Linked DNA regions of Homo sapiens: all the other regions are linked to region 3. The links are contacts of gene promoters, found by promoter capture Hi-C in blood cells and fetal thymus (Javierre and others, 2016). All regions are on one chromosome and are shown on one strand. Each heading gives the region's core, a stretch centred on a gene start or on the middle of the fragment in contact. The rest is flanking DNA. Distances are from core to core; before and after follow the strand shown.

Region 1 (2,700 bases), core at 187-2,686, 310 kb before region 3:
CTTGGACTAGAAGATGAGAGAGGATGAAGAAGATATTTGAGACGATGCTTAGGAAATGCTTGTGTAATTTCAAATTTTAGAAGATAAAAGATACATTGCACAAAACTCGCATGCTGCTTTACTTTTCACTGTAGGATTTTATAGACAGATTGTTATTCTCACTTACAAGCATATAAATTCAGTGATGTTTGGCAGCTTGCTCATAATTTTCAAAAAAAACATGAAGTAACCTTTTTACATGGGCTGAAGATGTCTTTGCTGGTTAAGCTTGAGGGTAAAACTGGATAAAATTATATATTCATTTAATAATTCATAACTTGAGTTGAAATGAATGTGTATATATTTTTCACTTGTTCACTTTATAAAATTCAAAACTAAACCCAGCAGCAGTTTTGTCTTTGGCATGGTGACAAGTTTCCTTTCTACAGTGAACCAGTCAAAGAAATTGTTCCAGAGAGAATTTGTGCTTCCCAATTTCAGAAAATCAAATTGGACTGTACACAATTACACATCACCGTTGTGTGATGCTTCCACATCCCAGAGTGTGCAAGAGAGAAGTAGCAATATACATTTCTAGGAAATACTTCCATCCGGCTGGGCGCAGTGGCTCACGCTTGTAATCCCGGCACTTTGGGAGGCCTGAGGTTGAGAGTTTGAGACCAGTCTGACCAACATGGAAAAACCCTGTCTCTACTAAAAATACAAAAAAATTAGCCGGGCATGCTGGTGCATGCCTGTATTCCCAGCTACTCGGGATGCTGAGGCAGGAGAATCGCTTGAACCTGGGAGACAGAGGTTGCGGTGAGCTAAGATTGTGCCATTGCACTTCAGCCTGGGCAACAAGAGTGGAACTCCATTTCAAAAAAATAAAAAAGAAATACTTCCATATACAATTAGATTATAGCCATTCAAGGGAAAAACTAGGCTTAGTTGTCAGAGGATTTTATTGCACAGAACTTTAGAGATTCAACTCATTCAAAGAAATAGCTAGGTTATAATTTGCAGTGAAGTGAGACTGAGCGTTCAGATATGGACATAGTCGTGTTTGCTGAGGAGGAGGGGGTGTGCATTTCATCCAACAGAAGTTGAGAAAGGCTGACACTAGCTTAAATGACTCATCAAAACCAATAGTGTGAAGAAATTGTTTTTTTTTTTTTTTTTTTTTGAGACAGGGTCTCACTCTGTCACCCAGGCTGGAGTGCAATGGCACAATCTCAGCTCACTGCAACCTCCGCCTCCCAGGTTCAAGCAATTCTCCTGCATCAGCCTCCCGAGTAGCTGGGACTACAGGCACGCCACTGCGTCAGGCTAATTTTTGTATTTTTAGTGGAGATGGGGTTTCACCAAGTTGGCCAGGCTGGCCTGGAACTCCTGTTCTCAGGTAATCAGCCCACCTCGGCCTCCCAAAGTGCTGGGATTACAGGTGTGAGCCACCGCGCCTGGCCAGTGTGAAGAAATCTTAAGAGTTCATATTCAAGTCCTTTGTGAGGATATTTCTGCAGTCATAAAAACTTACAAATATGAGTTTAAAATTATCTGAGGATATACATTTTATATTATAAAATCATAAACTTTGGCAAAATCATAGCAACCACTTGGTTACTATCATGGTCGCCATTTGGAAAGTAGCTGATGGACAGTGATGCATGTACACTGAATCCTCTACACTGAATAGTATACAAGATCTTCTACACTCAACAGGGGTCATTACAAAAATGATTCTTCACTGAAATAATTAATGCTCTTGCAAAAGTATTAATACATAGTATCTGCATGCTTGGTTTATAATTAAAGTAAAGATTAATCTTGATGAGGGAAGTAGATTTCGCTCTTTCTTCTGTTCTTCAGGATATGAAATGTTAGTAACACTGTGATCAACTATATTTAGAAAAACATGAATAAGCAATAGCCTCCAATTAGAAAAAAGCAGTTTGTTTGATTGATTGATAATTTTAGTAGTGATAATGTTTTTTAAATTATTTTTGGGGTGGGTAAGTGGAAGTAAGAATTGATCAACTAAAGCTAACTGTTTTGCGGTCAGTTTCAGTCTCCTTATCCAGATTAACACAAAATTAGATATAACACTGTCCTTCATCAAAGCATTAATCATTCATTCTGCATCTTTAGAGTCAAAGTGCAATCTTATTTGTTTAGAGAAAACAAATGCATTTCAAAATACACAAGTAATTGTTGGGTCAATTGGAAATTTTATTACATTTAACAAAACAAAGCACTGATATGGCTCTATGTAAGGCACATGCATTTTTATTTAATACAAATATAAAAATTAAAAGGTGGCATCTAATTCACTGTTGCAATGGGTAAATGTTCTACAAGTATATTTCCAAAAATAGTTTACATCCTAAAAGTAACTTACTCAGCTGAGAGAATCTAGGTTATTGTTTGTATTTTGAAACATGGGAACTCTGTAAATTGATAAAAATGTACTGAGTTTTAAAAATGAATTTCAGTATAACTGAGAAGAAAATATTAAAATTGTAACATTATTTCTCATTTATGTGGTTCCTTTATGATAAAGAAGGAGAAACACCTTCTCCTAATACAATTGCTAAAACACCAAATTGTACTTACTAGGAAAAAGAAGAAAGCTTTCCAATTTCAGGTATATACATAATAGGGAGAAATGAAATGCGAAGTTTAGTATGAATTATCTTCTTTAAAAGATCCTTAATATCTAAC
Region 2 (2,700 bases), core at 126-2,625, 320 kb after region 3:
AATAGGAAAACAAATCCCACCTTATTAAGTCTTGTTTGATCTTAAAACCACATCATCCGAGATTTCAGCGACATTATGCTGGCTCCGCACAAGAGGAACAGAGTTTTCTTATGAAAATAAATTAGACAAGCACACAGAAGAAAAAGAAAATGATGTGCAACGGTTAAAATGTTTGAGAGCCTTACATGTGGCCAGCGAGCTCAGCAAAGGACACTGGTTTCTTTTTCTCTCTTCTTTAGTCTTTTATTCCCTACTCTCTGTTCTCCTTGCAGCAAAACAAATATTTTTCCTACCACAAATATTTTTAAGGTGCTACTTTTCAATTAACGATGTTTTATTTCTTTTGTGTGATGGGGTTTTTCTTTTTCGCACTGAAATGATAAAGACACTGAAGATGGCAAAGGGAAGCCCTAGGAACAGCCTTGCTACAATCCATCAGCTGCGATAATATCAAGATGAATATATTGTCAGGAATCTGTATGTAGCATTTCATTTATCCTACCCACTCTGCTAAGAGCGGCTCCCCCGGGGATTACATTATTATTCAAGCTTCCTGGACTCACTCCAAATGCATATTGCAACTACAATTCAAAGGGAAACTTATAAAAGGTGATAGGAAATAGACCTTCTACAGAACATTTTTTAAAAATTAACCTTTTCAGAGTTTAATTCCATCCTATATACCTATAAATAGACCAGCTTTCAGGAACTAAAAACTAATCCTATAGTAATAACACAAAGCTCAATTTCTCATTCCATACGATCATTAATATTACTTTAAAAATCACGAGAAATCTCTTCAACTTCTTAAGCATTGTAATTCATTTCTGTACACCAATTCAAGAAACCTCATTAGTTTAGGTGGCCTTTTTGCAATACCATCCAAGGCACGCAAATATTTGGAATTTTTACCTTAGGTCAGAGTTTAAGAAAAAAATGATTTCTCATTTCCAGAAAGGATTTATGAATGTAGAAAAATGCTTTTGTGACAGTGACATGTTTGTGTTACCTAATTCACAAATAAAATAAGCTATATAGAATATATGAAGTAAAAATCAAAAGGAAAAAAGAGAAAGGATTTTATATAAATGGTGGATAATTTTTAAGTAAAAAAAAATCTTGTTACATCCTTAACATTTTTAAATCTTGTTACATCCTTAACATTTTTTTCTATAACCCAGTTTCAATACTCCAATCAAATGTAAGATGGAAGAGCTTTGATTTGAGAGAAAAAAAATCCTTTGAACATTGATCGACATGTGATTTGTGCAATTATTTAACCTGGATTTAACTCCCTCTACTCTATGCTCAAATCACTTGATTGACTGAGATGCTGTTTCCATTGAGCTGGGTTTACAATTATCTTTAAACAAGCGAAACTTCAAAGGCTGCTCAATGGGTATTTTCCGTTCTTCATGAGAACTCGTAAATGTATAACCTGCATATAAACAAGTCACTCTACCTAATTAAATGGAATCTCTTCCTCTCTATTAAAAATTTAGAAGTGCTGCCTGGGTATAAACATGTCATCTCAGAAGGTGGGAGGAGAGACCCTCTTAACGTCCGTGAACAACCAGCTGAATCTCCTTTAAGCAAAGCCACGTTAATAATAGCACAGACACATAAATTATTCTAATTATTTTATTATCAGTAAAGATTGGTTAAACGGAAAGGGTGTTCATTGTTGGCAATTATGCCCTCAAGTTTTATCTGACTACTAGGGAAATGCAGTCCAGGGCTTTAATTTACTTCAGAGACCGTCACATAGCTTCTTGCCCACTTTCTTTTTCAAACATCTGTATCCTAGAAGAGGTAACAGGTAATGGAGCATTTTCGCTGATGGCTGCGTCTAGACTGGAAAATGTTTTTTTGTTTGTGTTTGTTTGTTTGTTTTTGTTTTCTTTAATCACATTTCTAGACTTAGAACTCTTAGGAAAATGATCCATAAAAGGTCTAGTTTGGAAATTGAAATGTTCTTAAAGCGTTTTGAGTTTGTGTTGTTTCGTTTGATTGTTAAAGGAAGAAAAGGTTCTTAAAGTCCTTGTCCCTTTTTTGAAAACTGATGGAGAAATTATAAAGCACCTCCAGCTAATGAAAATAGTTTACCTTGAGCTCAGGATTCACTGCTATAGCTCCCAATCTTCTTTTTTTAAAAAAAAGAAAAACTCTTTTCATAAAGTTTGAAACAATATTTGTGGCATTAAGCTTTATATCATAAGACCAGGCAGAAATTGCAGCATGTAAATGTTTGAAAAGGAGACGTAGACTTTTGAGCTGTGAGGTGCTTTGTTGGAGCGTCCTCTTGTGGTCAAATGTCATCAATACAACTTTAGAGTCACTTTTTTTTAAAGGGCGGTTTTGACAAACCCACAGTAGCGCAATGTTGACACAAGTTGCAATTCAGGATTGAAAGTTTGGTATCTTGTTAGATTTTGTATCCTCTCCTATTCTCCAGAAACACCTTAAAATGCATTCACTCAAGCAAACAGGAATTCATGAGAGCTCTTAAATATACAAGAACTCTTAAAATACACAAAAATTATGCACAAATGCAAGGCAATGCTCCTTACTGATCTGGGAACAGAGAAAGTCTACCTCATGAGGTGGCATCTCTCCCCAGGTGTCCTTCAACTGGCCATGGGAGGGACAGTTTTTTCCCATCAGCACCACTGTCAGAGGCCAATAGCATGAGATGTAGTG
Region 3 (2,700 bases), core at 142-2,641:
AGAAACCCGTGGGAACTCCTGGTGTGTACTTATAGAGTGCGTGCATGCAGGCGGGGTCGACTCACTATTTATTTCATAGCAATTTGATGATGATGATGATGACGGCAGCGACGACGATGAGGATAATGATAATAATAATAATGATTCATTTAACCCTTCCAAGGCGAATCCGAACCGAAGGGAGCCTGCTGCTCGCACCAGGCGGAGTGACCCAAGGCACATTCCCCGCTCCCCAAGAAGGAAAACTCTATGGTTCTTTCCCCAAGTTGTAGAAGATACTGCTGTCTTAGTGGGATCGCAGGCGGCTTTTGCTACACTCTAAATCCTAAATAAGTTCTCCATACCAAAAAAAGCGGCAGTTGGGGGATGGGGGGTGGGAGGTTGGGGGGGTGGGAGGGCTGGGAAGGGGAGTTCCGGGTGTAAAATGAAAACTTCCAGGATGTGCCTGAGTCCTAAAGTTTCAAACCACCTGGGAAAAGCGAGAGCCCCTGAGGCTTACCTGGTGATAAACTGTGTCAAACAAACTCAGGCCCTCCCCAGGTCCGCACAACATTTGCCCCAACAGCTCCTGAGCCTCCATCCTGTGTCCAACCAAATTCCCGGAGGACTTTTAAAGCAAATACCTGGACTCTTCGCCCAGATACACTATTTTAATTTTTAAAAATTTGGTCAATACAGTTACATTCAAAATGGGTTCTTACATGGGGATGTCCAATCACATTTTGAAAGTATTTGTAAACCCCATCACTTTTTCAAAGCTACACACTAACTATACAAAGCTGAAGCAGCTGCATAGGAAAGTCAAGTCAAATTTCGACCTAACTCTCCGGGGACTGGGGGGCAAGGGTGTGTTTTCATTATTATAACCCATGCAACCAACCCCGGGTAGTGCTAAGCGCAGGAAAAGGGTCGGCTTCAGGGGAAAGCCGTGCCTAAAGTTACCTAACGATACAAACCGGATACAACGCAGAGGAAACAGAATACCCCAGCCAAGCAATTTCCATGTCAAACATCATCCGCGCGGCTGCTCCATCTGTGAACGTGAGTGGTCGCCTGGCTCCCTCTTCCGCGGCGGCCGCTTCCTCATACCTTCACACGGCGCACACCGGCCGGCGCGTCCAGCTGCCTGCCCAGTGGCCGAGGCTCTTCCCCCTCGCCCAGTCTTGAGCTGGAAGTGATTCCTATTGGCCAAGGTGTCCATGTAAATAGGTGTGAAAGAAACCAGAGCTGGCCGGGCTCTCCCTTCTCGCTCAGTCCCCTCCCTCTGCAGCCCCCGCTCCCCCTCCTCTTCCTCCTCCTCCCAAGGCGATTGTCATATGATAGCTAAGAAGTGGCACATTAATGAAGCGCCGCTACAGGGGTCTTTTCTGCTCCTGTCACCGCTTAAAACTATCAGATGGTTCGAGGGAGGACATGGAGGCAGCCACCTAGCTCAGCGGAGACGCGGAGCCCACAGCAGCGCCCTCCGGAGCCCTAACACGTCGCTGCCACCATCCGCGCCGGGACTCCGCAGCCGAGCTCGGCCGCCCGCAGGACGCTCCAGGAGCGTCGCGGACCGGGCGGCACGGGACGCTGCGGGGCTGAGCTCAAGAGCCCAGGTTCGCGCCGAGTCCAACCGGACCCGGACGCTGCGCGCGGAGTGCGCGTCGAGTGCGCGCCGAGAGAGAAGCGGCGCGCAGCGGCGTCCTCCCGGATGCGGACGCGCAACTTGAAGCAACTTTAAGGTGAGCAGCTCTCTGTTCCGTCCCTGCCCCCTATTCTGGCCCCAGTACCGACTTACTTCCCGGCTATCCTCGCGCCGTTCGCCGGCTTCCCCTCCCGCGCCCACTAAGCCCGCAAAGTTGCTGGCGAAAGAGTCCGGGCGCTGGCTGATCGAGCGCCGCAGGCCCCACCCCCGACCCCCGAAGTCTGTTACTCGGTCTGGCTGACCCCGCCGGTGTCTCTGTGCATCCATGCTACCTTTCCCTATTACCCACCCCCTTCCCAGATCCGAGCAGTCCGCCGGCCCGCGCGGACCCAGAGCAAGAAGAGGGCGAGGAAGAAGATGCCTCGGCCCGGCCGCAACACGTACAGCGACCAGAAGCCGCCCTACTCGTACATCTCGCTGACCGCTATGGCCATCCAGAGCTCTCCCGAGAAGATGCTGCCGCTGAGCGAGATCTACAAGTTCATCATGGACCGCTTCCCCTACTACAGGGAGAACACGCAGCGCTGGCAGAACAGTCTGCGCCACAACCTCTCCTTCAACGACTGCTTCATCAAGATCCCGCGGCGGCCGGACCAGCCAGGCAAGGGCAGCTTCTGGGCGCTGCACCCAAGCTGCGGGGACATGTTCGAGAACGGCAGCTTCCTGCGGCGCCGCAAGCGCTTCAAGGTGCTTAAGTCCGACCACCTGGCGCCCAGCAAGCCAGCCGACGCGGCGCAGTACCTGCAGCAGCAGGCCAAGCTGCGGCTCAGCGCGCTGGCGGCCTCGGGCACGCACCTGCCACAGATGCCCGCCGCCGCCTACAACTTGGGCGGCGTGGCGCAGCCCTCGGGCTTCAAGCACCCCTTCGCCATCGAGAACATCATCGCGCGGGAATACAAGATGCCTGGGGGGCTGGCCTTCTCCGCCATGCAGCCGGTGCCCGCTGCCTACCCGCTCCCCAACCAGTTGACTACCATGGGCAGCTCGCTGGGCACCGGCTGGCCACACGTGTA
Region 4 (2,700 bases), core at 127-2,626, 270 kb before region 3:
CAACTATATATTTATATCATTTTAATGACTCTTTATTTGATTTTTAAATTTTCCCATAATTTATTTAGCTGGTGAGTTTTTATTTATTTGCAGAAAGGAGGAACTCGACAAACTGCTTACTGCTAGAATAAGTTATAAGTAGAACACAATCTGAAATTATTCTGAAATGCTTCTTAATTATGGTAAAATCGTAGGTTTATTTGTAACTTAATATAGTGTTGGGCTAATTTGAATGCAGATGTATCTTGAGAAATGAATGGTATTTCACCCTGTACTCTAGAAATTATGAGGACTATTTGAATATTTTCCAGCGATCCATGTTAAAGTGAGCATTTTATATCTGAAGCCAGTGCCATTGATATATTGCTGGTTCCATGCGTGGATATTTTACATCTTTTGTTACATTAAAAGGGAGGCAAGCATGCAGTTTGATAACATGGCATAATTAGGTTGTTATGCCAAATAACAGCCATATCTACACTAGCATTTGGCCTGGAATAAGGCAGTATGAATTGTGGAACAGGTGAATGCTAGAGACTGTCAGATACAAACTCTTCATTTTACAAATGGGGAAATGGAGCTCAGAGGGCTGAGTTCTAGAACAGTGCTCTTTTCACCATTAAGTGGTTTTGCAAAGTTTTTAAAATAGCCTTTTCTCCTTTTTAAATGAATTCTTACTGGGAACACTAATATAAAAATGCCTAAAGGAAAGCTGCTCTGGCTGAAGCAGGGTGAAGGGCTGCAGGTACCTTCTTGGCCCCTATCTCTGTGCAAATGTGGTTTCTTAGGTTCAAAACCATGGGTACTATATCCTACTACCTGGCTTCTTTGTGCTCTTCTTTCCTATCCCCCAGCTTGCTATTTTAAGAATAGTTTTCTATCTGGAAAGCTCTTTTTTTTTTTTTTTTTGGAGACAGAGTCTCGCTCTGTTACACAGGCTGGAGTGCAGTGGCACAATCTCGGCTCATTGCAACCACCGCCTCCTGGGTTCCAGCGATTCTCCTGTCTCAGCCCCCCGAGTAGCTGGGATTACAGGCGCCCACTACCACACCTGGCTAATTTTTGTATTTTTTGTAGAGACAGGGTTTTGCCATGTTGGCCAGGCTGGTCTTGAACTGCTGACCCCAAGAGATCTGCCTGTCTCAGCCTCCCAAAGTGTTGGGATTACAAGCATGAGCCACTGTGCCCAGCCTGGAAAGCTCTTCACTGGGAGTTATTTTATCTCTTATGCATCAACCATCTCTAGCCAGAAATTGAAGAATGACATTTGGGGTTAAATGCATAAAAGCCTTTGTTTCAGGTAGACCTAGTCTTAAAGGTCAGAAAAAAGACATATTCCAGTGATATTGTTCCAGCTTCAGAGCAGCACTCTGGCAATGACTATTATGTTAATGGTGAAATATATTCAATAAAACATTGATTTTTGCTATTCAATGGCACTTTGCCACAAGGGTGATCATAGAGCCAGTAGATCACAAAAAATTTACTATAATTTTAGGGACATTTTTATTCCAACATTTTATGAAAGGTGAACCACTCTATTACCTAATTCAGTGGCATATATAAAAATTATTAAAACCCATCTAGATTATTACTTTATTGATATTTCTCACCTGCACATTCTATAATATACAATGTTTATCTTGGAATGACAATACCTTGCTGCACAAAAAGAAAATTGAAAACGAGATCTTCTCTAAGAGAAAAGCAAGATCATTATGTAAACAGCAGCCGGGTCTCATTCAGAATATGTCACATAAATACCACACCATCAAACAAGAAATGTAAATTATTATACATATGCTGTAATTGAAAATTGTATTATACATTAGTGAAGTCACCCATTTATCTAATCACAATCAGTTCCCATAAAATCTCATTTTGAAAAGTTGAGTGCAATTCAGGGGAGGTGGCTATGAGAATTTCAATCATGGAAATCTAAGTTTGGATTGAGATCTCAGCAAGGTCTGCAAGTCAGTTTTCATTGCTCCTCAGACATGCCTTTCAAATCTTTGAACTTATCTGTATGTGAACTGATCAGCCCAGCCTCTCATCTGGGGAGAGGAGATGAGATCAGCCAGCATTCGTGGCCCTGGTTCAAAAACAATGTGCAACACATGGTGCCATCTGAATGTTTTCTGGGCTTTCTCACCCCTTTCTGACTAGAACATAGTCACTTACGTTCATTCATTTGTTCACATTTTTTTAATTCAGCAAGTATTTACTTAGCACCTTATATGTCTAGGCTTTGTGCTATGAACTGACGACACAAAGGGAGCCAAAACACAGTTTCTGCCTTCAAGGTGTTGCCAGTCTAGTGGGGATAATAGAAGAACAATTGCACTATTTTATATGCAATTCTAAACTGTGATAGATGCAAAAAAGAAAGACAGAGGGTGCTATGAGAGCAAAGAACACATCTGGTGCTATGATTTAAACGTCTCCCACAGTTTACGTGTTGGCAACTTAATCCCTAATGCATCAGTGTTGAGAGGTGAGAACTTTAAGAACTGCTTAGGTCTCATGACTTTTAAGAGGGTTAGGGCTTGTTATTGTGAGAGTGGGTTTGTTATAAAAATGAGTTTGACCCTGTCTTGCTCGCTTGCACTCTCTTGCCTTTCTGCCTTCCACCATGGAATGATGCAGCAGGAAGGCCCTCACCAAATGAAAGCCCCTCAACCTTGGACTTCCCAGCCCCTA

What was found. Contacts are between HindIII fragments. The CHiCAGO score rates a contact against its expected background, and 5 or more counts as called.
Region 1: a contact is called between a fragment that was not itself captured here and the fragment with the promoter of FOXB1 in region 3, in 4 of 17 cell types (fetal thymus, M1 macrophages, megakaryocytes and 1 more). The highest score is 5.5, in fetal thymus.
Region 2: a fragment that was not itself captured here is called in contact with the fragment with the promoter of FOXB1 in region 3 in 7 of 17 cell types (M1 macrophages, M0 macrophages, fetal thymus and 4 more); the score reaches 6.6 in M1 macrophages.
Region 4: a fragment that was not itself captured here is called in contact with the fragment with the promoter of FOXB1 in region 3 in 1 of 17 cell types (non-activated CD4 T cells); the score reaches 5.1 in non-activated CD4 T cells.

The regions. Positions count from the first base shown.
Region 1 is chr15:59,697,183-59,699,882 of GRCh38, forward strand. No RefSeq gene overlaps it. Among named protein-coding and RNA genes, the nearest start is that of BNIP2, 9.2 kb to the left of the region's middle. The HindIII fragment of the contact is 2,342 bases long and covers 266-2,607 here.
Region 2 is chr15:60,324,715-60,327,414 of GRCh38, forward strand. No RefSeq gene overlaps it. Among named protein-coding and RNA genes, the nearest start is that of ANXA2, 72 kb to the right of the region's middle. The HindIII fragment of the contact is 1,656 bases long and covers 548-2,203 here.
Region 3 is chr15:60,002,920-60,005,619 of GRCh38, forward strand. FOXB1 (forkhead box B1) reads left to right here and starts at 1,392. Exons shown (of 2, transcript NM_012182.3): 1 at 1,392-1,724; 2 at 1,988-2,700. The coding sequence starts at 2,045. RefSeq lists an enhancer at 1,073-1,588. The HindIII fragment of the contact is 10,028 bases long and covers 1-2,700 here.
Region 4 is chr15:59,731,013-59,733,712 of GRCh38, forward strand. No RefSeq gene overlaps it. Among named protein-coding and RNA genes, the nearest start is that of BNIP2, 43 kb to the left of the region's middle. The HindIII fragment of the contact is 2,997 bases long and covers 1-2,700 here.